Linked DNA regions of Homo sapiens: region 1 is linked to region 2. The links are contacts of gene promoters, found by promoter capture Hi-C in human tissues and cell types (Jung and others, 2019). All regions are on one chromosome and are shown on one strand. Each heading gives the region's core, a stretch centred on a gene start or on the middle of the fragment in contact. The rest is flanking DNA. Distances are from core to core; before and after follow the strand shown. Region 1 overlaps MACF1 (microtubule actin crosslinking factor 1). Region 2 holds the start of BMP8A (bone morphogenetic protein 8a).

The links. The method cuts DNA at HindIII sites, captures the fragments that hold promoters and counts their contacts. A contact is called where the count stands out against the background at its distance.
Region 1: a fragment that was not itself captured here is called in contact with the fragment with the promoter of BMP8A in region 2 in 2 of the 25 tissues and cell types used here (hippocampus and liver).

What each region holds. Positions count from the first base shown.
Region 1 is chr1:39,424,738-39,432,315 of GRCh38, reverse strand. MACF1 (microtubule actin crosslinking factor 1) reads right to left here. Exons shown (of 101, transcript NM_001394062.1): 62 at 4,702-4,861; 63 at 4,029-4,355; 64 at 2,990-3,074; 65 at 2,248-2,489; 66 at 1,408-1,614. Among named protein-coding and RNA genes, the nearest start is that of BMP8A, 63 kb to the left of the region's middle. The HindIII fragment of the contact is 4,311 bases long and covers 885-5,195 here.
Region 2 is chr1:39,489,769-39,497,236 of GRCh38, reverse strand. BMP8A (bone morphogenetic protein 8a) reads right to left here and starts at 5,601. Exons shown (of 7, transcript NM_181809.4): 1 at 4,912-5,601. The coding sequence starts at 5,245. LOC124904101 (a long non-coding RNA gene) reads left to right here and starts at 5,689. Exons shown (of 2, transcript XR_007065978.1): 1 at 5,689-6,548; 2 at 7,110-7,468. RefSeq lists silencers at 5,273-5,372, 5,473-6,102. The HindIII fragment of the contact is 32,682 bases long and covers 1-7,468 here.

The sequences.
Region 1 (7,578 bases), core at 1,791-4,290, 62 kb after region 2:
CAGTTTCTACAGCTAGAAATAACAGATATCAATCCCCTTCAAAAGAAAGATGCCTCTAATCAGTGTTTTTATGAGACTACACTCTTCCTGCCATTGCTCTTTCCTACCCAGACATGGAACAGTAGTAGGTTTAGTCAGATGTTTAAATATAAACCTAATATGGCAGTAGACGGATGAGTCAAGTTAACTCGGAAGTGCCCGCTTAGCTGAAGCAGCATAAGACCCCAAAAGAACAACACATTTTTAAATGGTTATGTAATAACGAAAACCAAGAACATGTTCTACGTGACTGTTAGTTTCATGAGGGCTCCCCAATCCTCCATCCTTCCCTGCCCCCTCAGAGACAGGGTCTGATTCTGTTGCCCAGGCTGGAGTGCAGTAGCACAATCATAGCTCACTGCAGGCTCTAACTCCTAGGCGCGAGTGATCCTTTCACCTCAGCCTCTCTAATAGCTAGGACTACACAGGCAATTGCCACCATGATCGGCTAATTTTTAAATATTTCTGTAGAGATGTGTCTTGTTATGTTGCCCAGGCTGGTCTTGAACTCTTGGCCTCAAGGGATTCTCCTGCCTTAGCCTCCCAAAGTGCTGGGACTACAGGTGTGAGCCCAGTCTCCTATGCCTGACCTCTCCAGTCTTTTATCTCTTCCTCTTCAACTTGGCCAATATACACTTACATTTAAAAATACGCTTCTCCCAAGCACAATACATTTCATATTGAAATATCTGGCCAAGATAAGGGATAACTCTAAAGACACACTGGGGATATACCTGGACTCAGAGCAAATTTCTGTGTGATTCAAAAAGCATATGTTCATCACTATGATCCTAAGGAGTTATATTAACTTATTTTTTGTACTACGGCACATTAAGAGGTGTGTATCCAGCTACACAAAAGAACAAATGATTTTTTTCCAGAAAGTAGGAAGGAAAAAAGATCAAGGGAAATATGACACCTGTGTTTACTGAGAAGGTTCTATTTTAGATAGCTCTGCTATTTTGGTTTGCATATTTGATAGTAATTCCTTCCCCCTCTTCCATCTAATGCTAAGAGAGTTAATTATGTCAAACTAAGATTGTGGTGCATTTGGACCTTTTGAATCTAGATATTATCTACTCCCATCACCATCAGCCTTCTTAGCAGGGCATTAGCTAAGAAAAGGCCTCATGTAGACTCTTCTCCAAGTACTTCTCTACTCAAAGGGGTCAAGTATTTTGGTCAAATTCTGGATCCATCCTCACAAACTTCTACCCAATCATTTCCCATCAATGAAACATATTTATTCCACCAGATTTAGCTTGAGCCCATTCTTATTTCTGAGTCTGTATTTATGTGGGTCATAGTACTGTATCTCACACATCAATACTGTCTAAAATATTAATGCAGAGGTATTATAAGCATTACCTGTTGTGATCTCTGAATAGCAGCATCAATTTCATCCACCCTTTGTCCAATAGTGTCACTGACTAGTTTGTACTGCTCGTTAGCATCGGACACAAGTTTATCCAGCCCTTCTCTGGCTCTCCAGGGCACCAGCTCTAAGAGAGCACGGCTCACCTCATTCACTGTGTCCAACACCAGCCTGTGCTCCATGACCTCCTTCTTTAATTCCTAAGGAGGGAAAAGAGTTTTCAGGCCATACCTTGCTAAATAAAGCACATCAGCAACTGTGCTGGGTGGAAATTGCTATCTCTACCACACATCCCAGCAGGACTCTGACCTCCTTCCTTCAGTTATTTTTTTCTCATCTCAGATTTTTCAATCATTCTGAAGCCTGACTTTAGACTTCATTGTTGCTTGCTTAGAACTGCCTGTAAGACTTTTTGAGCCACATTGTCTCTGGGTAAAACAACTAATACTTCTTTCATCTCCTTACTTCAACAGAAATGATAAATAATGCTTTAACCAAAGGCTCAGTATTTAACCTAACAAGTACCTATACAATATTTCTATGCATCTAGAACTATACTAGATCCTGCAGAGAAATCAAATAAAACCATGAAGCACTCTTTAGAGAATAAATAATAGAGGTTAAAATGTTACAAAGTAAACTTGATTCAACTTCTTTCTTCTTCATAACATATGTGTAACGTATATGTCTTTATGTCAAATCTTACTGTCCATGAGTAAACAAGAAAGGGGGCACATATTTTTAGTTTATATTTAAGGTAAAGGTTGATAAAACTTAAGGATTCTGACAAAGAGGAAGCCTTTTTTTCTTTTTATGGTAAAGTAACAGCTCACCTTCTGTCTCTGCTGAAACTGGGGTATCTGTTCCCCTGTGGGAGACTGTCCTCCACTGGTTGCCAGCTCCTCCTCCACCTCCCTCAGCCACCCGGTCAGTTCCTCATAAGTAGACTGGAACTTGGTGGCCAGCTGCCGGGCTTGCTCTAAAGTTCTGAGGGCCTTGGAGCTAGTAACTGTGATGTCTGCGTAACGAGTCTTTATACCATCTAGTTTTTCCTGGATAAGTAACACCTCCTCACCTATGGAAGATAGCACACAATTACTCATATTTAAGAGACCTAGGAATGAGGAGTCTCTGATCCCCTTTCTTCAAATCAGAGCTTTAATTTCATAGACGCTCTCTCTCTCTCTGTGGTAATGATTTCACCTATCCCATACTAAGGGCAAATGGGAAATAAAATAAACTTTCCACTGGATAAAAGAAGCCACTTCTGAATTATTAAAATCTGAGTTCAGCGTCAAGTGTTTCTAGATGTTTCCAGCACCTTTCAGTGCATGTTGGCATTCAAGATACTGAAGGAGAGGAGAAATCATCATCTATAACCAGATGTGAGATAACTTAGTTTTCAAAAGATTTAGCAGGAAACAACCTTCTGGAGCACAGTAGGGAATACAATCAGTGAATACTAAGCTTCTCATATATACATAAAGAAGAGGCTAAGGCAGGGAACTCCTTTCCTTGGGTACATAATTGTCTTTGAGACCATAGGGGTGCTAAGAGACACACTTTTCAAAGTACCTGTGGTTTGTTTTAGAAGAGCCTGACCATTTTTAATAGCTTGATCTACATTCTTCTTTCTATTAACAATTTCTTCATTTAAAGCCTGAAAGGAAAGAATACCATTAATCCTGAAACTGTGGCACTACAAATGAAACAAAATGCGAGACCTTTAAGAGATCAAATTTAAAGTAAAGAGATGAATACTAGTTTAATTTAAACATCAGATATTTGATCCCCTCATCTTCTCCTTGGTTAGCCCATTGACTATTCAAAATAATTAAATCAGATACCTATAGGCAAGCTTTCCTATGCGCTGGATGAGAAAAACTTAGAATTACATCAGCTTTACCAATTATTGGTACCAAACCTGAACCCAAGAAAGGCAGAAGTGAAATTGAGCAAAATTGTCTACTGTGTCCAAAATAAGGAATAAACAGAAAGTTCAAGAGAAGAAATTCAGTAAGAACAGACTGACTTAAATCAGAATCCTGGTTAAAAACTCTCTTCATATTTAAAGTTGACGAAGCAAAAGAATCAGACTATTAGAAAAATTACCTATTTTTACTCTCCCAAACAGATTTCATAAAAATGAAATGAAAAAGGCAAACTCTTCTATTAAGATGACACAGAATCCCCGGAATTTGAACAAATCCAGAAATATCCTAAAAGTTTTTTAACTGTATGATCAAATCCTGGGCACTACACAGATAGATCTGGTTTTGTTAAAGCACATTATCTTTCATAAAACTGCTCAAATAGAATCTTAGTGACCCATCACCTAATAATGTAAATCATGAGTTGGAGTTCAGATGGCCCCTGACTATATACCCTGTACCATCTTCTAGAATTACTGATTTAACTTGTTAAATATAAGTATTTCCATGGACTCATCCAAAAACAGATTAGCAGTCAGCATCAAGTCCACTAACTATGCACTTGTGTATAAAATAAAGTTGAAGTGTTTGTAATGAAGAAAAAAAAATAAATGAAGAGAAACATGAATCAAAATAACAAAATAACAGAATAACATAACCAATAAAAATGGAAACATGAATACCAGGTGGTCAGCATGCTGCCTGTGCAGGACATCCTGTTTGAAATCCTTTACGAACACTGAACTGAGCTTGTCCTCAACCTCAGCCAGCCAGTTGAGCACCTCCACCTCATCCTCCCCAAACAGCCTAGCATTAGACAGAGCTTGGTCAAGTAGGGCTGCCTTCCGACAACAGCGGTCTTGAATTTCACTGTATCGGGCCTGCAATGAGTCTATCTTTTCTGACAGCACACCCTGTTCTGCAGGAGATGTCAGGGAGGAGAGGGACTGCCCAATTTTGACTGCCTGGTGCACATCTGTTGCATGGTTTTCTATGTCTTCTTCCAGAGCCTGGAAATCCAGATGGAAAAAATGAATAACAGAAACAAAATAAATGAAAAGTAAACACAAAATGATGAATAACAAATGATACAACAAATTAAACAATTAAAAAACTCACCGACTGAAAGGCAAAAATAATATAAAAATTGGGAACAAAAGCTGTTTATTCCGGTGGTAGCCTATCAGTCAATTTCTATTTGTATTTCAAGAATGTGACTTTTCCAATTAATAATCTGACCATATTTTAAGTTAAACCCACAAAACACACATCCTCTAGAATGCTGCAGGCAGTTTACTCATTTCTAGGATTTCTAATTCCAGTTTTCTATTTTCATTTACTGTAACCACTCCCTACCTTGTGCCGAATGATCTGCTGCTGTATTTTGGCAGTCTGAGTGCCAACAGGTTCTGAGTTAGCAAGCTTTTTCTCTGTGACAGATAAGAAGTCAGAAATAGGCTCAGCTGTCTCATGGAACTGTTTGGCCAGAACCAGGATGTCTTCCAGCTGTTTTTGCCTACACAAATATATAGAACAAGCTGCTCAGGAAGAAAAGTCACATTAAAACTGGTAATAGTACTATACTCAGTAAAAGAATAGTCTTTTCCAGGTATAGTTTAAATACCAATAGTAAACAGAACACACGTTATGTAGCATTTCGATGTTTTAAAGGATTTCACACCATTAACCTTATTCTCATTCTGTCATAACCTTGTAAGGTGGACAGAATAATTATCCCCCATTATAAAAGAATAATTATCCCCCTATTATAAAAGAGAAAGTTCAGTCAGAAGGCTTAAAGAAAGATTTGTCCAATCACCTGGTGAGTAGCAACAGTAGAATCAAATCTTCTAATGTTCTCCTTATTTAACACAAATCAAAACAGAATGTAGTATATATATCACCTGAACATCTGACCAAAATAAGGTTTAAAGGAGGCAAAAAGTTGTCTGTTTTCATTCTCTCTGTCACTACTACCTTCATTTATGAGTGAAGATATCTGAAGAGTAAAGACTGTATATTGCCTATGAACTAGAACTCCCTCCCCAACTCCCCAAAATCCAGTCAGGCTTCTGGTAATTTCAAGCCCCAGAACATAACTTTGAATCCAGATTTAAGGCAAAAAAACAAAAAAGAAACAAACAAAAAACCTCACGCTGGCTGAATTTGCCAACACAAAAAGCACCCCCCCCAAAAAAAAACCAAACAAAAAAAACTACAGACTTTATAGCTCACTTGGAATCTTAACTCTTATTTAATATAAGATCCATAACTAAGCTTGGCTTTTCCTGGGATACATGACTGTCACTGAGACCAGAGAAGTGCTAAGAGATGTACTTTCCAAAGTACCTGTGGTTTGTTTTACTCTATAAAATAAAAGCAGCAAATTACAAAGTGAGGAGGAAGTCTGGATATTGGAGATAGCCTGACAAGGAACAGACAAGAAAACAACCACAGAACTGTATTAGCATGCAGATTAATAATGAAAGGTCATAATGTTGTCTTTGAATTACTAAAAACAGACTAAGATATGGCATTTGAAGAGGCCTGGGAGTATATGATGCACTTAAGTTCAGCAAACCTTTACTGAAGACCTAATTTACGCCAGGTCCTATGCTAGTTATGCCCTGACAAAGTTATTTTAATAAGAAGTGGTTTAAATAAAAAAAGTTGGCATTTTGATTACTGGAAATTCAATTATGTTTGAATATAAAGAAAAACATATTTTTTAAGTGGCAATCTAAGTCTAAAACTTTCTTTCCTAGTTTGTTTATGCCAGCCTTCAAAATATATCTTCAAGTAATGCAACTAAAACATACAATATTAAAAATTATTATTAAATTTGAATTTCATTTTTTAAAAATTGCCTCTAATTTTTATGTCTTTCTTACTCATTTGATTTTGGAATCTGAAAATTTGAAGAATTTATTGTAATAAGATTAAAGGTATTTTTAGGGAGAAGAGCTAAAAATAATTTAGAAGCATCAAATATCTACTCTTGTTATTTGTTTCTATTTAAAATATTGGCCCAGAAACTATATTAGGCTAGGAGGATGGAAACAAGTAAAGTAGAAGGAAAGAGTCATAAAAATATGCATTAGATAAACAAACCATGACTTTAAGGAGTTTATGGACCAGGAAGGTAAGTACATAAAATAATGATCATAATACAAGGTACAGATAAAGAGTTATGGCAGTGAAGAGGCAGGAAAAATTATTCCATGATTGAGGAATAAAGGTAAGTTTTATAGAAGAGAGAGAGCTGGACAAAAGCATTTCATGAAAGATGTATTATAACCCATAAAATAAGACACAGGGTTAGGACATTGTCAGAAGATATTAAAGAACAGAATATAGTTTACTTCAGCTATAATATTAAGGAGTGAGAAGAATAGTAGAAGCTAAGAAAGGTAGGTTAGGGTCAAATAGAGGGCTTTGAATGGTGTGTTAAAGAGTTTATATTTTATTTTAAGCACCTTCTTAGCACGGCAGGCAGTGTGTCAGCCTCATAATCTAAAGGTTTTATTCTAACAGGGAGTCAATTAAATATCTCTGAGCTTGAAAAGATATGATTAAAGGCTTATTTCAGAAAGGTTCATCTGCAGCTGGGGGATGGGAAGGGGAAGGCCCCAGGGTTAGTGGTAGAGTGATTAGTGAAGAAGCTATCTCTATACACCTAGTGAGAGCTCGTAAGTCATGAACTGAGGGGAGAGTGGGAATTAGAGAAACAGATGGACAGGAAAGACACTGTAAAGTAAAATAGACAGAATTTAGCATGCTGATCGATGTGGGCACAAAGGAGAAATTAAAAAAAGAAAAGTAAAAATGGAGTCGAGGTTTTAAGCCTAGGAAACTGGAAAGCTAATGGTACCATTACTGGAAATGGACAGAGAGAAAAGAAAATAAGCAGTACAAATCTGGAAATACAAGTAAGTTAAATTCTTTCCATTTTGTTTCTTCCACTAACATAGGCAAGCCATACTTTGCAACTCAGGTAAGGAATAAGCCAAGTCATGGGCAGGTGGACATAAAAAGACTGAAGAGGGAATTATTTGAAGACTGCCATAGGCTACCTAGGAAATGTAAAGGATACAATAACAAATGATCAGCTCTCTTATTGATTTCTCATTAGCTGGTATTTAATTTTAAAACTGAGGACTGTATAAAAGTAAAGACATCTATGTGACTTATTAAGCTCAAGTCACAGGATAACTTATAGCTATGAAAAGAGAA
Region 2 (7,468 bases), core at 4,352-6,851:
CTTTAATATATCCACAGAGGGATGTGGATAAAAGTGTTCAGAACAACCCGAATGTCCATAACAATGGATGGACTGTGGTATGTATATTCATGCAATGGAATACAACTCAGTTATGAAAAAAAGAACTACAGATACAACAACATGGAGGAAAATGGAAAAAGAAGCATGCTGAGTCAAAGACTAGACTCAAGAGTATGCACTGTAAGATTCCATTTATGTGAAGTTCAAAGAACAGGCCATGGCAATGAAAATCAGAAAGTAGTTGCCGGAAGGATTGTCTGGTAGGAATGGGGCTCCCTAGGGGCACCCAAGTTACATGCTTCTGCAGAATCTGAATTTTGTAGAATGAGCATGCATTATTTCTATAAATTCCCCCAAAATAAAAATTCTTTAACAACAGGCTTCTCAGCTTACAATACACATTCACATTCAGTTCAATTCGACAGCACTTACTGCATCTAATGATAGGCGGGGACCTGGCCTGGGGTGGAGGCAGCTGCTGTGTTTCACATGGAGGCAGGGGGACAACCTGCTGTGTGGCCTTGGGAAAACCACCTAACTGCTCTGAGCCTCTCTCTCCTCTCTTTCAAACACAGATGTGACGGCAATTGTGAGATACCAATGAAGGAAGAGATGCAGAGGTTCTGGGCACGTGGGCATCGCTGGGTATCATCTCACACAAGCCCAGAACAGTCCCATAAGATGAGTATCTCCATTTTACAGAGGAGGAAACTGAGGCTTGGGGAGGTTGACTGGAAAGCCCAGATCACACTGAGATCAGGTGTTGGCGTCAGGATGCAAATTCCTTGTGTGTGGGTCTCAGGTCAGAAACCCCCAATCTAGCCCTGTCTGTCCTGCCATTGTTCAGCCCCTCCTGTTTCCCGATGGGGCGTTGCTGTCTAGCACACCCGACAATTACCTTTAGGGCTCATGTATGTATTATGTGTCTCTAGACTAGAAAGTCATCTCCCTGAGGGCAGGGACTTTACTTCTCTCATTGTTATATCCCCAGCAACTAGAACTCTGCCTGGTCCGTGGTAGGTGCTACAGAACTATTTGCTGAATGAATGAATGGGAAAATGAAAGAGGTCCCTGGTAAAGAACCAAAGGAAGTGGCCCTGGGGCCCACGGAGATGGTGCCACCGTTCCAGGTCACACGGCTGGCAAGGGCAGAGCAGGACCCGGGCCAGGTCCCGAATTCCCACTCAGTCCTGCTTCTCCCAAATCCAGACGGCTCTGTTCATCAACACCCCTGTCCATGGCCACCGGAGACCACAGGAGCAAATCTGTCTGGTTCAGGAAGGGATCAGGACAAAAATGAAGCTGCCTGCATTCTGATCCTGGCTGGACTTCTGCCTGCTAGTCCTGCTTATGCCTCAGTTTCTCAATCTGGAACATGGGCACCTGCCTCTCTGCTGAGATGGGTGGAGAAGGATTCAGAAGGAGTGTGCAGAGGTGGTCCTTCCTGCCATCCTTCCTCCCTCAGGAGGGGCCGGGCTGCCCTGAGGCACTGGGGCCAAGGCATGGCGGTGTTGTGAGAAGGCGCCTCTGCCACAGAGCCACAGGGTCAGGGCTGGGAGGCACCTTGCTTTTCTGATGCCATCACCGTAGAATGGACGAGAAAGCAGAGGCCCAGGGAAGGGAAGGGCCGTGGCTCAGGACATGCAGGAGTTAATGGTGGGCCCAGGCAGCACAAGAACCTGGGTCCTGCCTCCCAGCTCAGGGCTCTCCCCTCCCTGAGCACAGAGAGACCAGGGACAGAATCCAACCGCTCCATCACTGTCCTGCCCAAGAGAGCCCAGGTCTACAGGCTGATATGGATGACAGGCCAGGCAGGGCCCCGGCTCTGACCCCAGCCCTGGCCTCCCAGTGCAGGCTCTGAACATCAGGACGCAGGCTTGGCTTCCTAAAGCACCTGCTCTGCACGGAGGCCTGAACCCATGGGTGGGAAGCCAGCGAGAGCCCCGCCCTCTGGGTCCCACAGGCTGCCATCAAGAGTTGGGCCCTAGGGGCACCAGGCCTGGCTTTTCAGGACTCAGATGAGGCTGATAGGAGAGGTGGAGCTGGCAGAAGCAGGTGTGAGAGCCTGGGTGTGGGCAGTGACACCACAGCGACCCTGCTATTAGATCCCATGGTGGCTCTGGGGCCACCAACCTTCAGGGGCCTCCAAACACTGAGAGCATCCTGGTACGTGTCTATCCACCCCCCACCCACCCCGCCCCACCCAGCCTCAGTAATTACCAGTTAAAGCTACTCTGAGACAGTTCTACTAGTGCAGTTAGCACAGCAGAATAAAGAAGGCCTTTCTGACAGCTGGCTGCGCCCACCCACAGCCTGGGCTTCCACTAACAACGATCTGCTTGTTAATCCCACGGCGCTGGAGGCCCCGAGTCTTCATGAAGTGCTCAGAGCTGGTGTGGGAAGAAGCTGGGATTTGGAATCCACAGCCATGGATGTCACCTTGGATGTGCTGTGTGGCCCTGGGCTGGCCATTTAATCTCTCTGAGCGCATGAAATGGGGCTGGCAAAACAGTCTCACATGAATTAAATGAGGAATTGTAAGGCTGTGAAAGTTCACACGTGGCCAGGCATGGTGGTTCACGCCTGTAATCCCAGCACTTTGGGAGGCTGAGGTGGGAGGATTGCTTGAGTTCAGGAGTTCAAGACCAGTCTGGGCAATACAGTGAGACTCCCCGTCTCTACAAGAAATATTTAAAAATTATCTGGGTGTGGTGGTGTGCGACTGTAGCCCTAGCTACTGGGGAGGCTGAGGGAGGAAGATTGCTGGAGCCCGGGAATTAGAGGTTGCAGTGAGCTATAATCGCACCACTACACTCCAGCCTGGGGAATGCAGTGAAACCCTGCCTCTTAAAAAAAAAAAAAAGAAAAAAGAAAAAAGAAAGAAAGAAGGAAAGAAAGGAAAAGAAAAGAAAAGAAAAAGTTCACATGCTACTTTTCATTTTAAAAATAAGTACAAACACCTTTGATTGGCTTTTAGAGTTCATTTCTGGGTTTCACGTGTACAAGACATGTGGAGATGTTCCTGTCACCTCCACACTAAGGCTGGGCCACAGCTGGGAGGCCAACAGTGCCCAGGTCCAGGTTCACCCTCTGAGGGGAGCAGCACAGGCTTTCTACTCCTGCCCCTCTACCAATCACACAACAACCCTGAGGACAGATCACCAGGCACCTCCTTTTATAAGGAGCAACCAAGGCTGAGAAGGTGAGGAACTTCCCTAAGGTCACACAGAGGGGTGGGCCCTGCCCAATTCACAGCAACAGCCCCACCAGGCTGTGCATGCCTTGACCCAGGGGATGCCAGGGGAGGTCGGATGTGGGCTGGGTGGTGACGCATTCTGATGGGCGGCTCCCTGGGGACATTCTTGGACGACTCCATCCACAACTCTTCTTGGTCCTGAGCCCAGTGTCAGCCTGTCCTGATGACAGAGCCCCAGCCCCAGCTTCACAGATGGTCTCCTCTGTCCCACATCCCCACCCTGTCCTCTAACTACAAAGGCAGCATACAGATCCCACCGGCTAGAGTCCTGTCCCTGGCACTGGGCGCTCAGCGATGGTGAATGGCTGCCTTCTGCTGCTCGCCTCCACCACCAGCTCTGGGTTGCGGGAAGCAGAGGCTTGGCCATGCCCTCTTCTGCTCTAGTGTAGGAAGCAAATGGCTGATGGCCCCACAAGACCTGCTGCAGCTCAGTACCCTGTGTTCCTCAGCCCAGACTCCTCAGAAAGCTCTCTGCACCCTGAAAGCCTGACCTGACAACAGAAATGTCATCTCATTGAGCCCTGGATGGACAGTCAGGCTTCCTGGGCCTGTCCTGGCTCAGCAACATAGAGGCTGCGCTGTCCTAGGCATGGCGCTGCCTCTCTGAACCTCACTGTCCTCATCTGGGAGATGGGGATGAAGACCGTGGCTGTTATCAGGGTTGTCGGGAGGATGAAGAATTAATGATGCTGTCTGTGGAGGGAGGCTGGTGGCTGGGGCAGGTACCCACTCCCTGCTCTCAGCCCCACAGCTCCCCCACTTCGGGCTGAGCTGTGGTCCTTGGCTCCCAGACCCCGGCCTGTCACTAGCCACAGACAGGAGGCAAAGCAGACGGGGGACCTGACCAACAGTAACTACACGAGCATAGACCAAAGAGTTTAGTACTGGAAAAGAAAAATCTGAGATCTTAAGGAATAAATAGCTCCAGGGTTTGATACAAGATGTTTGCAGACAGGAAAAGCCCGGCTTTGCCTGGGAGAACACAGTGGGTCCAGCTGCCCACTGGGCCATTCCACAGGACCGGACACTCACCCTATACCAGGCCACATGCTAAGTGCAGGGCCCAGGGTGACAAGGCCACAGTCCCTGCCCCAGCGAGCTGAGTCTGCTCCTTCCCCAGCCGCTCCCCTGACAGCCGCACCCCACCCAGGCTCCGCACAGGGAAGAGCCTGCTGTGGACTCAGGGCACGCGACTCAGCTCTGGTCACTCCGATGATGTGACCACAGGTTTCCACGCTGAACTTTGTCCCTCTCCTCAGTACTGTCCTTATCACAGTGACAGCATCCCGGCCTCTGTTTACTCACCTGTCTCCCCAGGACCAGGCTGTCTTCCCGGGGCAGCCCAGGTGGGCAAAGACATCACCTAATTCTTACTCCTGGGTGTGTCTGGGGCAGGGTGAAGGCAGCGCCTGGGAGTCCACAGTCCCCCACACTCTGCTCCTGACCACCCCGCAGCCCAGGGGGCCCCCATGACCCTTAGACCTTCCCTAACCACGGCGGTCCCACTCCCCTGTGGTTCGCGTCCACCGTCTGTGATTCCCCGTTCGGCCAGGGCCCGGCACCGCCCGCGGATGCGCGCCCCTCCCCTGCAGCCAGCTTACTCCGAGGGTCCCCGCGCGGGCGGCCGCACTCACCCATGTTGACGAAGCTCATGACCAGGTCGGCGCGGCCCAGGCGCTGCTCCGCGGGCGCGCCGTCCTCGTCGTCGTCGCCAGCCATGGCGTGGTACAGGTCCAGCATGAAGAGCGGCGCGGACGCGGGCAGCCGGGAGGCGGCGGGTGGCGCGCGGGGCCGGGGCCGCCCGGGTAGCCCGAGCACCGCCAGGATCTCGCGCTGCACGTCCCGGCGCTCGCGCGCGCCCAGACGTCGCTGGGGACAGCCGGGCGGGGGTCGCAGGCCGGGGCCGCCCCCGCCCAGCGCGCACAACGTCAGGCCCAGAAGCCAGAGCGGTCCGGGGCGCGCGGCCATGGCGGGCCGGGGGCGCTCAGCGGGCGCACATCAGCTCCGCCGCCGCCCCTGGGCCCGGGGACGCCCCGACGGCGAACGGGGAGCTGAGTTCGGCGAGCAGGGGGCGGGGCTCGGCGGGCGGCGTCTGCGGCCTCAGCGCGGTCCCTGGAGCGCCCCCCGCGCGCACCTGCCCCGGCTCCGGGACAAGCGGACGCTGACGCGGACGCAGACGCCAACGCTTCGAGGCCGGGGCTGTTCTGAGGGCTGGGACTGTCAGCCAATCCGTCTGTCGCCGCCGTTCCCACCAGTCCGGCTGTGGCTGCGGTCCGCGCAGCGCAGGGGCGACCGGCGAGCTCCGGCAGCGACCCGGGCGGCGCGATTCCCGCGAGTCCTTGCCCCGGCTCAGCCGTCTGTGCCGCCCGCCCACCCCCGGGACTGACCAATGGGGGCGCGGGGGCGGGGCCTGGGCGCGGAGGCCGCGCCCGCTAGGAGCCCCGGGCGGCGGCAGGTGTTGCGGGTGGGGCGACCCCGAGGTGCGACCTCGGCGTGGCTGGCGGTTGGTCCGGGCGAGGAGCCCGCAGCCTGGGCGTCAGCGTGGTCAGGGCCGTCGTGGCTCCCGCCGCGGGCCTCGGCGCAGAGATCCTAAGGCCGCGGCGCCGTCCCGGTCCCGCCAGTGGTGCCACCCGGCTGCCTCGCCGTGGTGTGCCGTGGTCGCCACCGGGCCCGACACGCGGCCGTAGCCCCGTCTGGAGAGCCGGGCGGTGCCAGCCAAGCCCCGCGGGTGGGGCCTGTTCCTCTGCCCGCAGCAGCCGGCCCGGGTTCCGGCCACCGCGGCCCCTCACCGCCTCCTGGCGCCTTCCCCGTGGCCCCTGCATGCGCTTCTGCGGGCGCCTCCTTCTCGGCACCTGCTCGGCTGCTTCTCCCTGCGTCCCCCACCTGGCTCCCGCGTGAGCCCAGGCAGCGCCCCAGTCGGGCCGCCCCCGCCAGCCCTAGCTGTGCGCCCTGCGTCCCCGGTACTGATCCAGCTTTGCGGAGGAGGCTCCGCCTCCTGCCTCCAGCTGGGCCAGAAGCTCTGGGGCCCTTCCCGAGCACTCGGGAGCCACCTGTGCACATCTTCTCAGTCCCCACGGCCCCGGTGCAGGCCTGCCAAGAGAAGGATCCCCGCGGAAACGTCTCGACTGACTCAGTCCCTTTCTGCACACCTGCTCTTCCCTGGGCGCGCTCTCGCCTTACTTATTCCTGTGTGGTTCAGGCGCTGCGGAAGGAGAAGGCACCTAGACTGCACTGGGAAGGCTCCTGGAGTTGACCTGGAGCGCCAGGAAAGGTCAGTGGAGGAAAGTGCTCCAGGCAGAGGGAATAGCTTGTGCCAAGGCCCTGAGACCCCGGCTGGGGAGCCTAATAATGGCAACAGTCAGCACTTGCCACGCCAAGGCATGTTCTGAGTGTGTGTCTCGTGTCATTTCTGTGATGCTCGCACATCGTTAGGGGGTACATACCACTGGAACCTCCTCTTTTAATAAATGAGGAAACTGAGGCACACGGCGGTTAAGGGACTTACGCCAGGTCACACAGCAGTGGAGCTGCGCTCGGGCAGGGGGGCAGTGGAAACTGGAGAGCCCAGGGGGCAAACGGCGGAGGCTGGAGGGGCTGGCAAGGGAGGCACCGCAAAGGGCCTCACAGGGGCTAGACGAGGGCCCTGGGCACCAGAGATTATGGTGCCCCGCCATGTGGATTGAAGATTAAACCTCGAAGCAAGTGTATAATGCCCCCAAAAATCACATTTGGAAGTCATCACTTCAATAAAATTTTCTACAACAAATTCTTAATCTAAATAGTCATTTGCTGGTGCCTTAAACACACGCCTAGTTTGTCTTTTACCCAACAGGTATATTTCCACACTGCTCGTAAATTTTCTGCGCGGTCCCCAGAGCGCCCCCCATGAGGCACCTGCATCAGCTCCGGGCAGAGCAGATGTGGATGCCACCGCCTAGAAGCCGGGGCTACCCTGCGGACTGGGACTGTCCCATAAGGATACTGAGCTAAGGATAATGCAGAATAACCGTTGAAAGTACCCAAGACCAGAGCTTGGAAGCAGAGCGGAATATGGATCAGAGGGAGACAGGAGTCAGGGCCCTGCAGTTGGAGGCAGGTACAGCAATCAGATGTGGGGGTGGGTACAATGACCATGAGTCTCTAATGGTGATGGGGTGGAGGGGCAGAGGAGAAAGCTGTTTAGGAGGCTGA